2 separate regions of the Homo sapiens genome follow, and region 1 is linked to region 2. The links are contacts of gene promoters, found by promoter capture Hi-C in human tissues and cell types (Jung and others, 2019). All regions are on one chromosome and are shown on one strand. The core of a region is centred on a gene start or on the middle of the fragment in contact, and the rest is flanking DNA. Distances in the headings are between cores, read along the strand shown. Region 1 has its middle 23 kb from the start of UGT2A3. Region 2 holds the start of UGT2B15 (UDP glucuronosyltransferase family 2 member B15).

Region 1 (3,676 bases), core at 595-3,094, 300 kb after region 2:
CCTTTCCCAAATTCGGAAACATCTATTTCCTCTTTTTCTTCTTTCCTATTTTACCAAATGTTCGACAGGAAATCAAACAAAGTTTTGTGACCAAAAATATAGCCGTTGCCACACAGACCAGCAAAACCACAATCACACCCAAAGAGTGGCACTGGTACTAGGAGAGGTTGTGCGCAGCTAGCCGAGGGTGCTTGGCTCCTTTGTGGTGCATGACAAACTTGATCCAGAAAACTGCTCAACCCAGGGGCTTTACAGGTCGATCATGGTGAATTTTTGATAACCTTATAGCATTCTCTTTATAATTGGAAAGCAAGAGCACATATGGAAAACAGAGTTTTGTTTTGTTTTCATTAAAAAGAAGTAGGTAAACCGTAGCATATGTTATACAAGCCAAAAGCTTGTTGAATAAAAGAATTATTTTTGTTGTGATATGAACTTCATTGGTTGCATAGCATTGAACAGATACGGTGGGGAAATTGAAAAAGACACATATTCTTAGCAGAATGGGGTAAAATGAAGACGTAGAAAAATACTTAGTAAGCTGGTTGTTAATTTAAATCTACTGTTTCCAAGAAGGAGGATTGACACTCTATGAACTATCATTTCCAGGACTATTGCAATACTAAGATGATTATACCTGATGATATAATCATTGCAATACTAAGATAATGGCAATACTAAGATGATAATACCTGAGATTGAGAGGGAAGATCTTTTAAATAGTCTTCCAGTATGGCCCTAACATTTTCTAGTATGATATATAACATAATCAATGGTAGATAAGCCTTTTAAAGCAGTAATACTTACAAAAGATTATTGATACCTGTTCTCAAAGACCTAAGCAAATCTGTACCTGTAATTGTATTCATGTTCAGCTGCACAGCTGCTCCTTTGGCTTTCATGTGAGAGGTGTTGTCAAGATGATCACCAAACATAGGAAACTCCCACCATAGGGACTCCATGGTAAATAGCTTCATAGACCCCATTTATATCACCATGAGTGATAAAAGCTTTGGTTTGTGCATGACCTAGTTGGGAAACTGAATAAGAAGTATGGTTTTTATTATCACAATTCTTAAAAGAATTTCAGAGACATGTAGGGAAAAAATCTTTGAAATAACTCACTGAAGAGGGCAGAATTTTCTACAAAAGTGAACAAAAAGGGCATCATTGCAAAAGAAATTTGCTTTCTTAAGGAAAAGAGGCATTAATTTATTTCTGCATTGCTTGAAACTTACTTTAAAAATAAAAGTAAGAATCAAAAAATATAATGACCAACAATTACTCAATTATATATACTTTAAAATTAAAGGTAAAATAACAAACTATAAATTTTAAATTTTTGTTAAATTTATTAGGTGTTAAACAGTTATTCAATTTTTCCCTTATGAAATTCCTCATTTTTACTACGTCATAATCTTATCATGAAGATCGCTCTGGCATATCCAAACGTAGAGCTGAGTATTGGTTCCCAGTGTAGCTGGTTTCTTTCCTTTGAATCTCTATAAAACCTGAGGAAGTAAATGTATGCATTTCACAAGTTAAACCACAAGATAATAGCATTTTGAGTTTTCAGATCATTATAATTCATACAATCCACTTTATTTCAGATGATATTTGAGACAGGAGCATATAAGGGTCCTATGTAATCACTGAAAAAAATAGTAAGACTGTTGACAGTCACCTCTTAAAAGGGTAGGTACCATTAAACTCTTGGGGATACCATTTATTATTTTGTTTCCTGCAAACTCAAATCATCTAGGAGTGAGATTATAAAAATAACAAAAAAATAAAGCAGTGTTGGCTAATTTGTCAGCATATGGAAGTTCAATTTCTTACGGACACACAACTTCTGTGTAAATGTAAATCACTTGGCCATTCTAGCTCTATTATCAAATTTATAGTTTCCCAGAGACAAACATTGCTTTGGTTTTTGTCTGGTTTTGGGTAGTTGGTTGTCTTTTCTCTTCATGCCTCCTTCTCTCCTTTATTTCATTTATCTTTAATTAAAAAACAAAGAGAGAGGAGTTACCTATATTTCATTGTTGAAGGTTAAATTTTGTTTGTATTTGTATCTTAGTTCCATACTTTTTTCTTTCTAGAAACGTATATGAAAATCTCACACTTGAAAACAAAGGATTACATAGATACTCTGAACTCCCAAAACGAGAATCTCATGACTAAAACCAATTTCACATTCCTATTTACCATACTTGCTTTTATTGAGTGTTTTGAAATTTAACTAAACATAAAATTAAAAAAAAAACCTCTAGGCTGGTGTATAAATAGCACTAACTAAAGAGAGGAAAACTAGAATTACAGTAATAACAAAACTAATTGAATATCATAAAGAATTACATGCAGGTTGCTAGACTATAATATTAAAACCATAATTGCCTTTTAACTATAGAAAACTCTAGTTCATTAGAAAGACTACATAAATTTAAGCTTCTACTTTTATGTTCAAATACGTGGAATAGAGTTCCTATATAATCAAATATGTTGAGAATACTATTGAGCATGATTCTTCTCTTATATAATTCCCCAATTTTTATATTCCTTTGAGCTAGTATATTTAAAAAGTTTCCTTTGGAGTCATCAGAATATGTCTCAAGATTTCAAATCCTGCAATGTGGAATAGGGACTTAATGCACTATTTTTATTTTATTATTAACAAATGACAAGCAAGAGATGTGTTACTAAAGCAATAGAAAAGATCACTAGGCAAATAATCAGTTGTGTCCACATACACAACCATAATGTTTTCCAAATTGTTACGTAAATCTAACGCCTGTTACGCAAATTGAAAAATGAGATTCAAGTTCCAAATGGAAAGCCATACTTTCTCTATTGTGTGAATAGCTTCTTATAAGGATTGGAGGTTCTACTGACTTTTTGTGGAATCTGAGCCAGGGCGGAAGTGATAAGATAAACCTTTTCTTCTGTAAGGTTTTTCACAACTGACTCCAGAGAAAACACAACAACACCATCCTTATCAGAGCGCTGGAAAAATTCTTCTATTTCCTACAGAAAAAAAAATTTTCTTCATTATAAAGATGCAATGCCAAATAGAATAATACAGTTTATGCATACTTCTAAAATAAAATTTTGAAGTTGACATATATATAGTTGTATTGTCCCTGTATTCTGAGATGCATTTTAGCATAGAAATGAGAAAGTTTGTGTTAGAAACATATGTCTTCAGTACATAATAATTATTTACTAGAAAAAGCACACAACCACATAGTTATACAGAACATTTAAGTGAGAAATGTCCATCTTGTTTAATATTTGGTAGACATCAAATTCTAAAAACATAATGGTTAGTAAACTCATAAAACTATTTCAACAATATCAAGTGTCAATTTGTTGGCATTTTGTGATGTCAACAAAATAATAAAATTTTAAAAATCCAACATCAATTCCCCAACAAAAGTACAACTAGTAGCTATCCAAATACACAAATGCCACTCTGAATTCACCAGATCTCAATAGAGAAGGAGAAAACCCCAAGACTTACGGACATGACAAACTTATGATTGGTAAGATGAATAATTTTTGGGGGCTATACCAACCCCTTCCACACACAAAAATGACACCACTGTGAGATAACTTCTTTTTACCTGCAGTTATTGAAATGGGAGGAGGGAATTTCAAGTGGACATATAATTTCTTC
Region 2 (3,263 bases), core at 226-2,725:
AACATTTTCAGAATTTATTGACATAGAGATATGTGCTCTCCCTTAATTTGGCCCCTATTTTCTTTGATGGAGAGATGCAGTTTAATAAAATATAGATTAAAACTTAGATGTTCACTTTCAACAAGATTTCAGTTTTTGAAAGAAATAATTGTCAACCTGTTATTGAAGGAATGTATAAACATTAGAAATCTCAAGTTTTAGGCTTCTGTTTCTGGAGTAGAGCCACTATATTACTCAACTGTGAAGGAATCCTTCTTACATGAAAAACAAAATTTAATTTCTAAATGAGGAAACTGAGGAACTCAAAGAGAAACAAATTCCTCAATCCTGCATTGATAATTTTTCTAGAAATATGTGTAAATACTAAATTTATGTGTCTGCCTTCATGAAGATGTTTCTTGAGGTATCTATTGACTTTTTTTAAAGATGAAAAAATGTATAGCAAAATGATATGTGATAGTTTAAAGAAATCATTAGTGCTTTACAATGAAGGTTTATGACTCTCTGGGTGTCCTGTAGTAGTGATGGCCCCAGGGTTCTAACTGATTCTATAAGGTCAACATTCTATAATATTTTTGAGACTGATAGATCATCTTACATTTGCAATTCATAATTTCCCTTAAAAACACTATCTTCTGACATTATATTTATATAAGCTCACCTTCAAAGGCACAGAAAAGTTAGAACTTAATAAGCACCAGTTAGACACATGACTTACCTAGAACTTCACTATAAAACTGGTCCCACTTCTTCAGATCATAAATTTGAAACCAAAAGTCAAAATAAAGCATATGTATCATATTTTTTATCCTCTCCATGAAAATCATTTGATCACTTAATTCTGACATAACAACAGGTACATAGGAAGGAGGGAACAGAAATCCTCCACCATTCTTCTCAAATGTGTAGCCAACAGAGAATCGAAGACTGTACAGAAAGGGTATGTTAAATAGTTCAGCCAGTAGCTCACCACAGGGATTAAGGGCATCTGCCAGAATGACATCAAACTTTGACTCTTGTAGTTTCATCATAAGTTTCTTATTCAAAACTGCATCTTTACAGAGCTTGTTACTGTAGTCATAATATTCCCAACACAATTCTTGTAATTGTGAAAAATATGACCAAAATGTATTTTTTGAAACACCATATATCCATCTATCGAGAATTTTCAGAAGAGAATCTTCCAAATAATTTTTAGTTAAAGATGTAGGATAAACTTCTAATTTAATAGCAGATGATTTACTGGCATTGACAAGAGTAGAAGCCGAAGATGTCAACACAGTCACCTCATGACCCCTCTGAACAAGCTCTTCCAGGATTGTCTTCATATTTATCCAATGGCTGTATTCTGTGGGCCACACTAGCACCTTTCCACAGCTTCCAGAGCTAAAGTAACAACTGAGCTGTATCAGCAGAAAGACTGACGTCCATTTCAGAGACATCCTGGTCTTATGCAATGCTTCTTTTCCAGTTGTTGTTTCTTTCTGTCATTTCTCATACTTATATCTGAGGAAAAATCAATCAAGTTAAAATATAACTGCTAAAATTTGAAGTAAATACATAATACTAACAGTCTGAATAGGTGCATGCCAAGGAGACCAACAAAAGATTGATGACCTCATATTTATTTTAGTGTGTTTGGTGTTCTTTTATGTTTACAATTACTCTAGTCAAGCAATAATTTTTATGACCTAGAATATGTAAGTAACCTGTCTTATGTAATTATTTTATAATACTGTTAAGAACAGTGGCAAGTGAGAGGCTCCTGCCTGTTCGGTGCCCTTGACATAGAGAGAAGAAGTAATTATACAACTCAAACGGCATTTTTTAATATCGTGGTGCAAGTAATGTCTTCTAAAACTTTGTTGACACATAATTCATATACCATATGACTCACCAATTAGTGTGTACAGTTCAATGTTTCCTAGTATATTCACAGAATTTTACATCCACTACAATAATCAGTATTATCTCCAAAAGATTCTATACAATAGCCTCTAACCCCCCACTCTGAAATTTTGCATCCATCCTACCCTAGGCAACCACTAATCTAATTTCTATCTCTATAGATTAGCATTTTCTGGACCCTTTAAAAAATAAATGAGGGTTTTCCAGTGATCATGGCAGATGGGATGCAGGACTAGATTGCAGCTCCAGACAGAGCAGCATGCAGAGGCTTGCATTGTGAATTTTAGCTGCAGATCAACTGCAAGAACAGACCAGCAATTCTGAGAGGATCCACACACCCTCTGCAGGAAGAGTACTGCTCCTGCAGGACCTGGGAGACATCCCAAACACTGTGAGTGCCCCAACAATGGAAGTGGGAAAGGGTGATCCCCCTCTCCAGAATACACATCCCCACTGGAGAAGCTGAAGTTCTGTTTGCAGGAGAAGTTCCTGACTTTATGTGAAGCTGAGTCAAATTAGAGAACCAAGCCAAGCAAAATACAGGGGTAGAGGAAGTAGCAGAAAGGCACTGGGAGCTCTCTGGATACCCAAGCGGCTCATTCCTGCCTGGCATCACAGGGATCTATCAGGAGGGTGGCCAGTGATGCAGGGGGTTCAAAGATTCTCCTCAGGACCTGAAGGCTTGAAGGGATGAGTAACTCCTCCCTTCTCAGGCCCAGCCCCAAGATGCAAGACCACTTGCATCAGCAGCGTGTGTCAGCAAGATAGCAGAAGCAGGAAGAGAGCCGGCCAGAAGACACTTACCCTGGCTGGAAGAGATGTACCCCTGAAGATCAAGAAATAGGCCATCCAGGTACTACATAGCAGTCACAACAGACTGGGACACTTACTGTTTACAGAGGACTACAAAACCCCTGTCCCATCCTCACTTGGGGCTGATGCCATTTTAGGCCTCAGCCCACCTGCAACCAGGCGTTCATTAAAACAGCATGTTGCTCCACACCGCCTCCTGTTGTCTGTTGGCGCGCTGTTGGGGTTCAAACTGATTCAAGAACCTTACATCTGGTGCCAAATCCTAGGAGGGGCTCAGGTCTGTGTCGCTTGTGGACCTATCCCTCCACCCCAGAGAGCAGGCCACAGCAATTAGACAGAGGAAGCTCCTCAGCCTCCAGTCGCCTCTCTGTGCATGCGCATCAGCCACTGATCTCGCCTACTGGTAAGTTTCCCTTGGAGCCCGGTTAACAGGGCAAAATCTACATGGCCTCTCTTGGTTTCTCCAGTCCAAAAATCCAACACTGATCCAAGAAGGCGCCAGCGTGCGCCAGGCACTCGCTGGTCATCTGGTCTTAGGGGGA

Evidence for each region. Contacts are between HindIII fragments. The study calls those that stand out against the background at their distance.
Region 1: a contact is called between a fragment that was not itself captured here and the fragment with the promoter of UGT2B15 in region 2, in 2 of the 25 tissues and cell types used here (H1 embryonic stem cells and dorsolateral prefrontal cortex).

Annotation. Positions count from the first base shown.
Region 1 is chr4:68,972,970-68,976,645 of GRCh38, forward strand. It overlaps the pseudogene LOC100289568. Among named protein-coding and RNA genes, the nearest start is that of UGT2A3, 23 kb to the left of the region's middle. The HindIII fragment of the contact is 3,307 bases long and covers 192-3,498 here.
Region 2 is chr4:68,669,177-68,672,439 of GRCh38, forward strand. UGT2B15 (UDP glucuronosyltransferase family 2 member B15) reads right to left here and starts at 1,476. Exons shown (of 6, transcript NM_001076.4): 1 at 719-1,476. The coding sequence starts at 1,442. The HindIII fragment of the contact is 11,998 bases long and covers 1-3,263 here.